Linked DNA regions of Homo sapiens: all the other regions are linked to region 1. Evidence: promoter capture Hi-C in 16 types of primary human blood cells and fetal thymus (Javierre and others, 2016). All regions are on one chromosome and are shown on one strand. Each heading gives the region's core, a stretch centred on a gene start or on the middle of the fragment in contact. The rest is flanking DNA. Distances are from core to core; before and after follow the strand shown. Region 1 holds the start of MAP9-AS1 (MAP9 antisense RNA 1). Region 2 overlaps CTSO (cathepsin O). Region 3 holds the start of RBM46 (RNA binding motif protein 46). Region 4 overlaps RBM46 (RNA binding motif protein 46). Region 5 has its middle 55 kb from the start of RBM46.

Evidence for each region. Contacts are between HindIII fragments. The CHiCAGO score rates a contact against its expected background, and 5 or more counts as called.
Region 2: a contact is called between a fragment that was not itself captured here and the fragment with the promoter of MAP9-AS1 in region 1, in 2 of 17 cell types (total CD8 T cells and fetal thymus). The highest score is 7.2, in total CD8 T cells.
Region 3: a contact is called between the fragment with the promoter of RBM46 here and the fragment with the promoter of MAP9-AS1 in region 1, in 4 of 17 cell types (megakaryocytes, M2 macrophages, erythroblasts and 1 more). The highest score is 8.9, in megakaryocytes.
Region 4: a fragment that was not itself captured here is called in contact with the fragment with the promoter of MAP9-AS1 in region 1 in 2 of 17 cell types (endothelial precursors and megakaryocytes); the score reaches 9.2 in endothelial precursors.
Region 5: a fragment that was not itself captured here is called in contact with the fragment with the promoter of MAP9-AS1 in region 1 in 1 of 17 cell types (erythroblasts); the score reaches 5.3 in erythroblasts.

Annotation. Positions count from the first base shown.
Region 1 is chr4:155,352,962-155,355,475 of GRCh38, forward strand. It overlaps MAP9-AS1 (MAP9 antisense RNA 1), which reads left to right and starts at 1,255. Exons shown (of 3, transcript NR_125937.1): 1 at 1,255-1,412. It overlaps MAP9 (microtubule associated protein 9), which reads right to left. Exons shown (of 14, transcript NM_001039580.2): 10 at 2,110-2,199; 11 at 218-379; 12 at 1-96. The HindIII fragment of the contact is 4,107 bases long and covers 1-2,514 here.
Region 2 is chr4:155,949,795-155,952,308 of GRCh38, forward strand. The region is part of intron 1 of CTSO (cathepsin O); the gene reads right to left. Among named protein-coding and RNA genes, the nearest start is that of CTSO, 2.8 kb to the right of the region's middle. The HindIII fragment of the contact is 210 bases long and covers 1,155-1,364 here.
Region 3 is chr4:154,780,017-154,782,530 of GRCh38, forward strand. It overlaps RBM46 (RNA binding motif protein 46), which reads left to right and starts at 1,256. Exons shown (of 5, transcript NM_144979.5): 1 at 1,256-1,420. It overlaps LOC105377500 (a long non-coding RNA gene), which reads right to left and starts at 1,857. Exons shown (of 4, transcript NR_188451.1): 1 at 1,773-1,857. The HindIII fragment of the contact is 3,692 bases long and covers 1-2,355 here.
Region 4 is chr4:154,796,190-154,798,703 of GRCh38, forward strand. RBM46 (RNA binding motif protein 46) reads left to right here. Exons shown (of 5, transcript NM_144979.5): 2 at 553-714; 3 at 1,622-2,089. The coding sequence starts at 564. Among named protein-coding and RNA genes, the nearest start is that of RBM46, 16 kb to the left of the region's middle. The HindIII fragment of the contact is 3,687 bases long and covers 1-2,514 here.
Region 5 is chr4:154,834,750-154,837,263 of GRCh38, forward strand. No RefSeq gene overlaps it. Among named protein-coding and RNA genes, the nearest start is that of RBM46, 55 kb to the left of the region's middle. The HindIII fragment of the contact is 7,592 bases long and covers 1-2,514 here.

The DNA.
Region 1 (2,514 bases), core at 5-2,504:
CTCCTCTTTCTGTTTCTTTGCTCTTTCATATTCTCTCTCCTTTCTATTTTTCTCTTTAAGATATTCCATCTTTTTCTCTTTCCATTTTTCAAAAGCCTGAAAAAGTTCAGAATAATTTTCTTACTGTGAATATTTGAAAATAAATAAAAATATGGTTAATCATTAATTTGGATTTCAAATGTTTTAAAATAATTAAGATGTGCAAAGTTCTGAATACTTGTAGTGCTTCTCCTTTTCTTGCAGCATTTTCTTCTTCAGTTTTCTTCTTGTTTTTTTCTTCAAGCCTCTTTTTGGCAGCTATTTTCTTTGCTTCCTTTTCTTTCATAGCCTTCCAGGCCTCAAATGATGCTAATGCTTCTTCTCTTTTAGCAGCTTTTTTCTACAGTGGAAAAAATAATAGAGTGATATACATATATATGTATATATACATAGACACAAATATGGCTAGATATAAATATACACATATACATTTATCTTTAGTCCTCTGATATTCATTATACTTAGAAATTAACTTTCAAAGTAGGTAATTTATTTAGAATGGCTTAGATAATTTACAAAGAATGTTATCTGAATTATTCATTGGTTTTAAAACGTCCTTTTCTAAAAACATTTATCACATATTGACCTATTAATGAGAAAGATGTCAACTATTATTTTTGAAAGTGTACTAAACAAATTATATCAAAATAAACTGTAATAGGCTAAGTGGTATAGTAAAATTTTCATAATAAAATATTTGAAAAAAAAATCAGTAAAGTTATGGGCTTATAAAGTAAGTTAGAGTAAGGCAAATTGGCCAAGCCATGCAGTAAGATGCAGATTTTTGGTTTAAATCTTAATTTTGAATAGTATCAAAACATAAAGTTCTTACTGCACAAATGTATTCCAAATGTTGAAAGTATGTGCTCGACTGAAAAATAGGTTGGAGACTGTATAGCAAGTTATGTTATTATTTTACTTCCTTCAATCTAATCCCATAATATTCTATGTTTGCTTTATTGTTCAATATTAAATGACATAAAACCTTAATATTGGGGTAACATAATTTAGAGGTCAAAGTACTATCTACCTCACAGAGCTACGAAAATCAAATGAGAAGGGGTATGGCACTGACCACAGCAGCATACTGCTATGAACGTGGTTAACAGATAGACAGGCACGCCCCCTGGAGGGCTGCTCCCTTCACTACTGACGCATTATCGTGCAGTTCACCTTGGAAAATATTTTTCTTCTAAATCTATTTTTAGTATTGAACAGCACACTGGAGTTTTTGTCCAGAAGTTTGACTTTAGAAGATAAGAAATAACTGAGCGTATTACAAGCAGGAGTTAGAGGAAGAGACTCAGTACAGAAGAGACAGGAACAAAAGTTCACCTCCATTCAATGGGAAAGGATACAGATCAAGAGTTCAGGTAGGGGTTGGACTTGAAGATACTTATAAAATTCAAGAGAGAAAAGAGGAAAATTGAAGGCTAACTAGTGTCTAATGATCCTTTATCTTGTCGTGCCTTTTTTTTTTTTTTTGAGACAGAGTCTCTGTCACCTAGGCTGGAGTACAGTGGCACGATCTCAGCTAACTGCAACCTCCGCCTCCCGGGTTCAAGTGATCCTGCCACCTCAGCCTCCTGAGTAGCTGGGATTACAGGTGCCCACCACCATCCCTGGCTAATTTTTGTATTTTTAGTAGAGATGGGGTTTCACCACATTGCCCAGGCTGGTGTCGAACTCCAGACCTCAAGGAATCCCATCTGCCTTGGCCTCCCAAAGTGCTGGGATTACAGGCATGAGCCACAGTACCTGGCCTTCTTGGTTAAGTTCTAAATGAAATCAACTTTTAAAAGTGAATTAGGTGCTCATAAACAATAATAACTTCATAATCAGCAGGAACAAAGCTATCCTATACATATACAAAATTAAAATCTGTTTTCATGTAAAACAGTTATATCAAACTAAAATGTATAAAGTAAAACAGAAGTAAAACCGGAAATCATTTCTTTAATATACAAGTTATTTTGCCATTTAAAAAGCTGATTTAGAAAAGTTATATATTCAGGGATATTTTACTGAAATAAAAATCCAAAACATTTTTACTTCTATATGTCAGAATACCTGTTCATTTTGGATCCTTAAGTTTTCACTTTCAATTCTTTTTATTCTGTGCATTTCATGTAAATACACATTTTTCTTTTCTAACCACTCCTATAAGAACAAGAAAAAGGTCATATAATATTTAAAATTTCTTAAGTGAATTAGAATTCTTTATATTAACATTTTCTCTGAAATTCACATGTACAATTTTCTAAAGTATACTATTCTACTCTAAAAAAGACAAAAAAAGACTTTTAGAATTGTGAATAAATTAATACAATCTTTTTCCTATGTACGCCTAACAACATCTCAGGAAAGAAAAAATTTAATAACTTTTTGTTCATAATAACTCCTTTTGTTCATATAAACTTCAAGAAGAAAAAAATGAAAACATATATAGACTTTACAATGTTTTGGCTTGTGCTG
Region 2 (2,514 bases), core at 10-2,509, 600 kb after region 1:
TTCTCAACTGAGGATAATTTTGTCCCTCATTTGTCATACTGGGGATTGTCATACTGGTGGGATGCCACTGGCATCTGGTGCATAGAGCCCATGCATGCTGCTACTCACCCTACAATGAAGAGGAAGGTCCCCCACAACAAATCACTATCCATTCTCAAATGTCAATAGTGCCACTGTTGAGGAGCCTTGGATTAGAACAATAAAAGCTTTTTAAGGATACACTTTTATAAAGTACAGCTTTTGAAAAGTTTCTTAGACAAAGTATTTTCTATACAGTGTACTGAAGTGTGTGTAAACATATTGCAGATATATGTTTACTATGTATGATAAGAAATGTGTAGTCAGGATTTGTGTGAGCATGTACACAAAAAGATTGAATTAAAAATACATTCTTTTGTGAACTACTTGGGAGAATCTATTTCTCCAGTGTATAAGTCTTTACATTCTTTTTATTTACAGGAAAATGTTTATTTACAGGATACAATGCTTAAACATAACGATATTCATTTTTTGTGTACATTTCTTACAGGACAGCACGCGTCTTATTCTCCACTGTATCCCTCAGAAAACCCAGACCAGTTCTTTAGACACAGTGGAAATTAAATAAAGTATTGGATAAATGTATGGGAAGATGAATAAATTATAACCTATGATTTTAAGTTTATGATATATTTCCATTTAGTCAATGTATGCTTTAAGTGAGATTCATCAGAAAAAGTCTGCTGAACAACCTTATCTAACATCAAATTCGTGTTTTCATCTTTATATAAGGTAGAACAGGAGTCTCAAAACCCTGGGCCATGGACCAGTACTGTTCTGTGGCCTGTTAACGACCAGGCTGCACAGCAGGTGGTGAGGGGCCTGCGAGCATGCATCACCACCTGATCTCCACCTTCTGTCAGATCGGCAGCAGCATTAGATTATCATAGGAGCACAAACCCTACTGGGAACGGTGCATGTAAGGGATCTAGTTTGCACAGTCCTTATGTGAATCTAATGCTTGATGATCTGGGGTGGAACAGCTTCATTCTGAAATCATCCGCATCCTCCTCACCCCACCCCCACACCCCAGTCCGTGGAAAAATTGTCTTCCATGAAACCAATCCCTGGTGCCAAAAAGTTTGGGGACCACTGAGGTAGAAAATAGGTTTTAAAGCTTTCTTGGATAAAGCCTATTTGGAGGACCTAATTCCAGATTTCAAGGGGCTGATTACGGCAAGCACATATAAGTGGCTCATTAGTTAGGATCACTTGTTATAAAGATGCTATGGCCATCTATTTACACATAAATAAATATTCCTAAATATATAAATAATCTTATAATAATATAACCTGTGTCATTACGGCAACTGGTCTTAAGGTAAAGCTTTGGAAATTTTATGTAAAATCACATGTACTTTGGCATAGATATTATTCTAAAGTGAGTGTATCAAGCAAATTTTATTGGATCCAATATTGGGTCTGTGCCTCCCAAAAGGATAAGAATACCAAATGTTCTGTGGTAAAATAATGAGCATCAGTAAATATGAGGGCATAGCTAGGTTTTGGCACAAAGGAGAGTAGGCTAAATCCAATAGTTAAGAGCTTCCTGAGCACTGGAAGTTTCTAAAGGAGTGAAAGTGCAGAGATAAGGGGTGCCATCCAAAGTCAGGTGTCTTGTGAGGCATCCCATAATAAACCATAGTGGAGTCTAGTTTTCACTGAACAATACTATAATATTTTGTGGGAAAGTCATGGGCTAACCTAACTTTCATTTAACGTGCATTCCTGGGAAACTTACAAAACTATCTAAGGCTAAGATTAAAACAAATTTTAAAACCTTCACCATTCTCTAAACCCATGACCATGAAAGACATTACTAATTAATCAAGGACTTTCTTGAACCAGATCTTCAGCTGCAAACCCCTGAATCATCAATTCACCAATGAATTAACTTGATTTCAACAAGAAGTTTCACGGTTACCAAGGAGGCAAGGCCCTTTCCACCTTTCCCACTGTCCAGCTCTCTATCCCAAGTCCGAACAGCAATCTCCAGCTAACTAATCTAACTAATTCCTGATGATCTTAGATGAAAGACTTTCATCCCAAATCCATCCATCTCCCCCACTTCCCTCCTCCCGTCCATGGAAAAAATGTCTTCCATGAATCCGGTCCCTAGTGCCAAAAGATTGGGGACCACTAAGGTAGAAAATCGGTTTTAAAGCATTCTTGGATAAAGTCCAACTAAGCACCGAGAGGTGTTCAGTTTCCAGCAACTGTGCGTTGAAGCCTCAATGTTCTCTTTTTTGGGTATCCATCTCATGAAGCAAATTCTTACAGGCAGCAATTGCTTTGAAAATTTTTTCAGTATTTCTTAACCCGAGGTTTTTAAAATGTACTAAGAGTCTTCATAATTCGATCCTCCTCCACTTCCAACTTTCCATCTTTCAACCTGTTTCTTTGTATTTCTCCTGAGAAAAGTTACATTTTCTAGACATTCATCAGGGTATGGCCTCTTTACAGGACCAGTATGAG
Region 3 (2,514 bases), core at 6-2,505, 570 kb before region 1:
TAGCAATTATGTCTGTAGGTTTCAAACTGGAGCCACTTACTTGCTATATGACTTTGCCCAAACTACTTAAGGTTTCTGCATCTGTTTCCCCGTCTGCAAAGTAGGGCTAGTAACTTTACCAAAGTTACTGTGAGAATTAAATGAAAATATGAAAAGTCCTTAGGATTGTTTCTGGCATCTGGCTCAATATTTGGTAATATCATATATTATTTTATTCTCACAATCCCCACTTTAAACAGGGTCTGTCTGGCTCCAAAGTCCCTGCTAATTCCTCACTGTTGTAGTATATTTAAAAATTAAAAATATACTTTAACAAAATTTAAATTGGTAGACATTCATTAGTTCCTTGAATATATGGAGAAAATACATTAGGAGTTAATGTGGAAGAAATCACCTTGAGGTTGGGAATAAGGAGATCTGTGTTACTCGGTGAATATTCTGGGCATGAAGTTCCTTGTTAATTAGAGAATCAACATGAGCTAGGTTCTTTATTGTCTAATATTCCATGAATCTAATATTATCTATACATAAATAGTTGGTTCCTAAAGGTGGTTTTTTCTTTCCTTGTCTGCATTTAATTTCGAGCTGTCTTCAAAGGAAGCAAAACTGAAGTTATGCATACCGAATGCCAAACAACCCTATCTGTGAAAGTTGGTTTTACAAGAGCATAGAACCCAGTTCGGCAGTTCGCCTCTGCCAAATGTCCCTGCAAGCTGATTAGTGGTAGCGTCAAGCCTATCGCTAGTTCTCCTCATCTAACCCATTTTCTTAGTCATTGTCATTTAAACCACTTATACTTTATACTTCTAGTCCTATTTGCAAATCCATCTTTTAGCTTTATAACCCACCTCCCCCTAGCCCTTAATTTCAAAGGTCCACCGGATATATGTGGTTGTTTTGCGCCAAACTAGCAGTTTACAAGAAAACTACATCAAACAAGAAAAAGAACCATTACGATGCATCTATGTTTTCCCTTAAGTGCGGAATTTCACACTGCAGCCCTCGTCTTCAAACACCTAAACAATGCACCTAGGACCTTCATTTATTATTCCGTGCCCACCCACACCCTAAAAATCGCTCTCTTCACCCCAATTGCTCGAAATGCCTGTCACTCCAAGCACTTTGACTAGCCCAAGAGCCTCATTTAAACTTTAGCCCCACTCTCTCCTCCTCGCCCCGCCCCGAAGCTAATCCCTGATTGGATGAGGCACCACTCCTCGTGGGGCTGCTTAGGCCACCGCGCGCGCTGCGCGCTGGGAAACGAGTGGAGACACGAGGACCAGCGCGAGCGGTCCCGGTGGGCTACCCTCCCCCTGCGACGACCCCCCCTCGCTCTGACCGACTGGTCCCCTAAACGGTGGCGGCGGTTTTTGGTCGTTGGGCCCCGGGATTTAGGACCAACATTTGAAGACCCGAAGGGGTGAGGAGGGGAAAGGGGAAACGGGGTCACTACCAGACCACTGCTAACGGCTGGATAGTGCCCGGCTCACTCTCACGCCGAATACACAGTGGGGGCTGGCGGCGGTGGCTGCGGGGTTCACCCTCGTCCTTCCCCAGCCCCGTCGAGCAGTGGGAGGGCAAGTGTCCGAGACGCTGCTTCCTGCCCCGGCAGCATCCGGCCAGAAGGCGCCCTCGCCGTCACCCAGGCGCTGCATGGTGAGGGCCCAGCGGCCAGTCTCTTTGGGGCGTCTGGCGGCCTCTTCCGCCCCGCGGCGCCCTGCGCTCTCCGCCTTATTTCCGCTCTCCCCCGCTGCCTTCCGGCCGCTTCCCACCTGTGCTGCATTTCGTGTTATTTTCCTGACACGCTTACGCCGACGACCAACGACCGCTGCAGGCCCGGGCCGCTGCCTGGCCGTTGTAGGGTCCGCGCGTCCCCTGGAGGCTTTGGACGCCGTCTGGGGCGTCCCGACGGCTGGGTGAGATTCAGCAGTCTGGTTTCAGAATTGAATTCAGGCTGGGTGAGCTTTAGCGGGCTCCTAGTCGTTTGCGTGGAGTTCTAGCCGGGACTGAGCCTCGAACTTTACTTTGCCTTTGTCTCCCTGTTTCTTCCCCGAGTACCTCGTGTGTGCTGGGCTGTGGGCAGTGGGAGGCCGCGGGTGCACAGGGAAGATAGCTCGCCTCTCCCCCGACACACGGACGGCAGCACACGTCGTGGCACCGCCTTTGTTTCCTAACATCTGGTAGTTTTTAAACCCCTAATTTAAAAATGTTTCTTTGGAGCTGCTGGAAAAACCACAGAACCAGCGGCATTTAATCCTGGCGTTGATATTCTGAGATATTGCGAAGCTGCTTGATTTATTTGGGCACCAGTTTTCTCCTATGTAAATTTAGCTTAGGTAATATTTAAGTTCTTTAAGCTTTAACTGTCTTTACATTCTTGATAAATTCCCCGTAACCTTTATGTTATGTGGTAATCCTAATATAGGCAAATATCAAAGAGGAAATATCATAAGGAGTTTTTTTGTTTTGTTTTTTGTTTTGTTTTGAGACGGAGTCTCGCTCTGTCTCCCAGGC
Region 4 (2,514 bases), core at 9-2,508, 560 kb before region 1:
AAAATCTTCAAGTCTTAGTGACTGATGAGCTGTGCATCAAAGGACTCTGGGATAACACCCAGATTTCTGGTTGTGAGAGTTTGGAAGAGAGGAAATATGTTTGTTGGGGTGCCATTTATTGGTTGAATGTAAGCCACAGGAAAATCCAGTTGGCTTAGATGATAAAATGATTTAAATTTTGGGCTATGTAGATTGGCAGGTATATTCATTGATGGCTTACATTTTGTTGTTACTCTGTTTGCTTTCCTTTTTCTTCTCTTTCACTTAATTTTGTTTTTTCATTCTTTGTTGCTTTCTCTTTTTCATTGTTTGTGTCCCTTTCTTATAGCTTAGGCCTTCTAAAGGTACTGCATAATTGGTCAGTGACATTGAAAGAAGTTTCCAAGTTTCCACTGTAGGGAAGAGCTTTGGGGCAGAACCTCAGAGGACAGTGAAGGCTAATCAAACATGCCAGCCACAACTGTCTTTGTTTTTCTGCAACCCAAAGAAATGCCTTATAGATTCTTGGTATTCTGTTGTAAACTTAACCAGTGTTATTAAACTTTATTTTAGGAACTGCAACCATGAATGAAGAAAATATAGATGGAACAAATGGATGCAGTAAAGTTCGAACTGGTATTCAGAATGAAGCAGCATTACTTGCTTTGATGGAAAAGACTGGTTACAACATGGTTCAGGAAAATGGACAAAGGAAATTTGGCGGTCCTCCTCCAGGTGTGGATTTGTTTACAGTCTTTTAAATTTAATCTTTAACCTCGTCATGTAGATTAGATGTGTATCCCCACAAGTATTCCAAACAATAGCTCTCTCCTTGTAACTGCTTTAAGACATTTTTTTTTTTACTGTTGAGGAGAGTTAAATTATAAATGTTATTCATGTCTTACCATTACATTTTTTCAGCCCTGCTCTTCATCTAAGAAGCAGTTGAGAAAGAAGCTGGGCTAGGTTGAGAAAGAAGTCAGGATTAGGAAAGTAGGAAAAAGGGTGCTACTCTAGGTGTTAAAGAGGAGATCATCTGGGGAGGAATTTGAAACAGCAGTGAGTAAGTGAGTGGTGTTTAAACTAGAAAACCAAATGGAAACAGGTAAATAGAATGTTCGACTTTTCTACCAATAGTCAGTACAATTCCTTTGCCCGAAACCCTTCAGTTTATCACACTTAAAATAAAAATCTGGCTTCTGGGTACCTCAATGGCTGTAGCACTTACCACTTTCTTCCTTTCTCACGTACATGTTAGCTGTACAGGCTTCCATAATCTATGTTGCTCTGACATAAAAGCGCTTGCTTTTTCTTCTTTCCAAATGCCCTTTTCCCAGATAATCCTCATGGCTCACTCCCTCATTCTATTCAGGTCTCTGCTTAAATCTCACGTACCCAGAGATTTGCCTGACCACTCCCTTGATTTTCTTCGTAGCACTTAACCACTCACTTGTTATCTCCCTTCTCTATTGAATATTAGCTTCATAAGGGAAGGGGCTTTATTTTGTCCACTGTTGTATCACCAATACCTAGAATTGTGAGTGGCACATAGCACAGCAAATTTGTTGAATGAATATATGATTGAATAGTGAGTACAAATATCCAATTAGAATTTATGTGTCTTTTCATTTTTGTCGTTCAGGTTGGGAAGGTCCACCTCCACCTAGAGGCTGTGAAGTTTTTGTAGGAAAAATACCTCGTGATATGTATGAAGATGAGTTAGTTCCTGTATTTGAAAGAGCTGGGAAGATATATGAATTTCGACTTATGATGGAATTTAGTGGTGAAAATCGAGGTTATGCTTTTGTGATGTACACTACAAAAGAAGAAGCCCAATTAGCCATCAGAATTCTTAATAATTATGAAATTCGACCAGGGAAGTTTATTGGTGTGTGTGTAAGCCTGGATAATTGTAGATTATTTATTGGAGCTATTCCCAAGGAAAAGAAGAAAGAAGAAATTTTAGATGAAATGAAGAAAGTTACAGAAGGAGTTGTAGATGTCATTGTTTATCCAAGTGCAACTGATAAGACCAAAAATCGTGGTTTTGCATTTGTGGAATATGAATCTCACAGAGCTGCTGCTATGGCAAGGAGGAAACTAATTCCAGGTAAACTGAAAGGTTGTTTTTCAATATTAACATTATTACAAATATGGAGAGATGATAGTACATCAGGGATCAATATTATCAAAATACTAATGTCACTTAAAGAAGAGTAAAGAATTGTTTGAGTAATGAAGTAAAATAAATTACATGATTCTAAAAGACAAGAAATTGTTCCAGTAAAATGAGTCCTATTTATGATATTTTTACTGGATATATACACTTTGAGCTGTTAATTGTTGTTTAATAAAAATCCAAAGGGCAACACTTAATTCTTCTGATAAAGATCTATCTTTGAAGTGTATTTGTTCTATTGACTCTGAAATTACATAGTAAGTTTTAGTTATTTACTTTAGTAAAAATTTTTGTGTGAATAGGAAACAAATGCTTAACCAAATTTATTGATGTGTAGTTGAGTTTCTGCTTCTCTG
Region 5 (2,514 bases), core at 6-2,505, 520 kb before region 1:
AAATAAATAGAGGATAGAAAAGAAAAAACAAATCAGTTAAACCAAGACTTAGTTTTTGGAAAGATCAAGAAAATTGACAAACCGGTAACTAGACTAAGAAAAAAAGGGGACTCAATTATCTAAAATTAGAAATAAACGAGGGAAAACTACAACAGATGTCACATAAATAAAAATAATTACAAAAGACTAACTGCTATAAACAATTACACACTAACAAACTGGCCAAACTAGAAGAAATGGATAATTTATAGAAACAAAACCTACCAAGAGTGAGTCATGAATAAATTAAAAATCTGAACAGACCTATAACTAGTAAGGAGAATGAGACAGTAATCAAAAACCTCTCAAAAAGAAAAGCCCAGGACCAGATGGCTTTACTGAAGGATTCTATTAAACATTTAAAGAAAAATTAGGGCTGGGCATGGTGGCTCATGTCTACAATCCAAGAACTTTGAGAGTCTGAGGTGGGAGGATCACTTGAGCAAAGCAATTTGAGAGCAGCCTGAGCTATATGGTGAGACCTCCATCTCTACAAAAAAATAATTTAAAAATTAGCCAGGTGTGGTGGCACCTGTCCCTGTGATCCTAGCTACTTGGGAGGCTGAGGTGGGAGGATAGCTTGAGCTTGATAGGTTGAGGCTACAGTGAGTTGTGATCATGCCACTGTACTCCAACCTGGGTGACAGAGTGATACTCTGCCTTAAAAAAGTTGTAAACAGGCCGGGCATGGTGGCTCACGCCTATAATCCCAGCACTTTCGGAGGCCAAGGTGGGCGGATCAGGAGATCAGGAGATCGAGACCATCCTGATTAACATGGTGAAACCTTGTCTCTTCTAAAAATACAAAAAATTGGCTGGGCGTGGTGGTGGGCAACTGTAGTCCCAGCTACTTGGGAGGCTGAGGCAGGAGAATGGCATGAACCCGGGAGGCAGAACTTGCAGTGAGCCAAGATCGCACCACTGCACTCCAGCCTGGGTGACACAGCAAGACTGCGTCTCAAAAAAAAAAAAAAAAGAAGAAGAAGTTGTAAAGAAAAATAATTAACATCAATCCTCAGATTATCTGGAAGAATTAAAGAGGAGGGAATCCAAACTAATTTTATGAGGCCAACGTTACCCTTGTACCAAAACCATCAAAAGACACCAAGAAAACTACAGTACAATATCCTTGATGGATACTGATGCAAAATTTGTAAACAAAATACTAGCAAAGTAAATTCAACAGCACATTAAAAGGATCATACACCATGACTGCAGGGATCTGTCCTGCAGACCCCAGCTGCATAACGGATGAGATACGTACTCAGACACCAATGTTCAGTGAAAGAGTGGGCCAGGGGGCTGCCAGCACTGGCAGCCAAAGAGAGTTTGCAGCCCCTCCAAGCTGGCAACCATTTATTTACTACAGATTTAATTGACAAAGGCTTTGAGTGAACACACCTGTGGGTAATTAACCTGGTCGCCCCCACCCAGGAGAGGGCCATTCTGCCTGTGAATGATCAAAGGTTGATTTTAGGACCACATGAGTAAACAAGCTATTTAGATGAACTACTCTACATTCCTTTGTATCTGCACCCCAAGCTATTAACTCTAGGTAAGGATTAGGCTGCTTTCAGCCATAACCCTATCCTGAGACTTTTGCAAAACCTTCCAGCCTTCCAAGAAGGTTTGTGTCTATATCCTATAACTTCATCTTAAAATTTTTCCCACCAGCTTGACCGAACTCCCACATCTCCCTCTTCCCTGTTTTTTTTTTGCATCAGGTTCTGTTGATTGAAGCATGCAGATATGTGCAACAACAGGTCTGTGGGGCGAGGCAGTCATTGCTCTTATTCTGGCATTGCATCCTAGAATTAGCAAATAACATAAGACAGTCATGAGTAAAATTAGCAACATTCTTTTCCAATCAAGGAACGACCTGCAGCATTGCTTGGCGCTTCAGTTTGATGTGTGCTGTTACTAAGGAACCTCACTGGGGATAAGTTAACCCCTTCCAGCCAAGCAGTCTCATTGTTAGAAGCTGGGAAGGAAGTGTCTGCCCAGATAACAGGGCTGAAAAATGGCAGGTTTAGAAGATGAGCTTAATTGAGTGTAGCAGGTATAGGTAGCAGGCACAGGGAGAGAATAAAAAAGGAATACATTATCTGGAGTGAATGGTGCCTGTTCCCGGAGCAGGATTTGCTCAGTCTTCTGACTTGTCTTCTTCAGTATAATGTCTGGGGCCTGTGTTGTTTGAGGAAGCCGCATCCTCCGGGGATGCAGGTCCTGTAGGGTCAGTTCCTTCATTTCTGGTACCGGCTTGGTTCCTAGCCATGCCATGGTGTGGTTTGATGCGTCATGCTGGAATCCAAAGAGGACCTGAGGGGGTGTAGACACAAGCATACCCTCTTCCCCAAGTTAACAGTTCATTTGGACCACACCGTACATTGCTGTTTACATCTTTCAATAAAACTGCAGGTTTTATGTCTTGAGAGGTTTCAGCAAAGTGCTTTTCTACAGCTGATTGAAATTTAT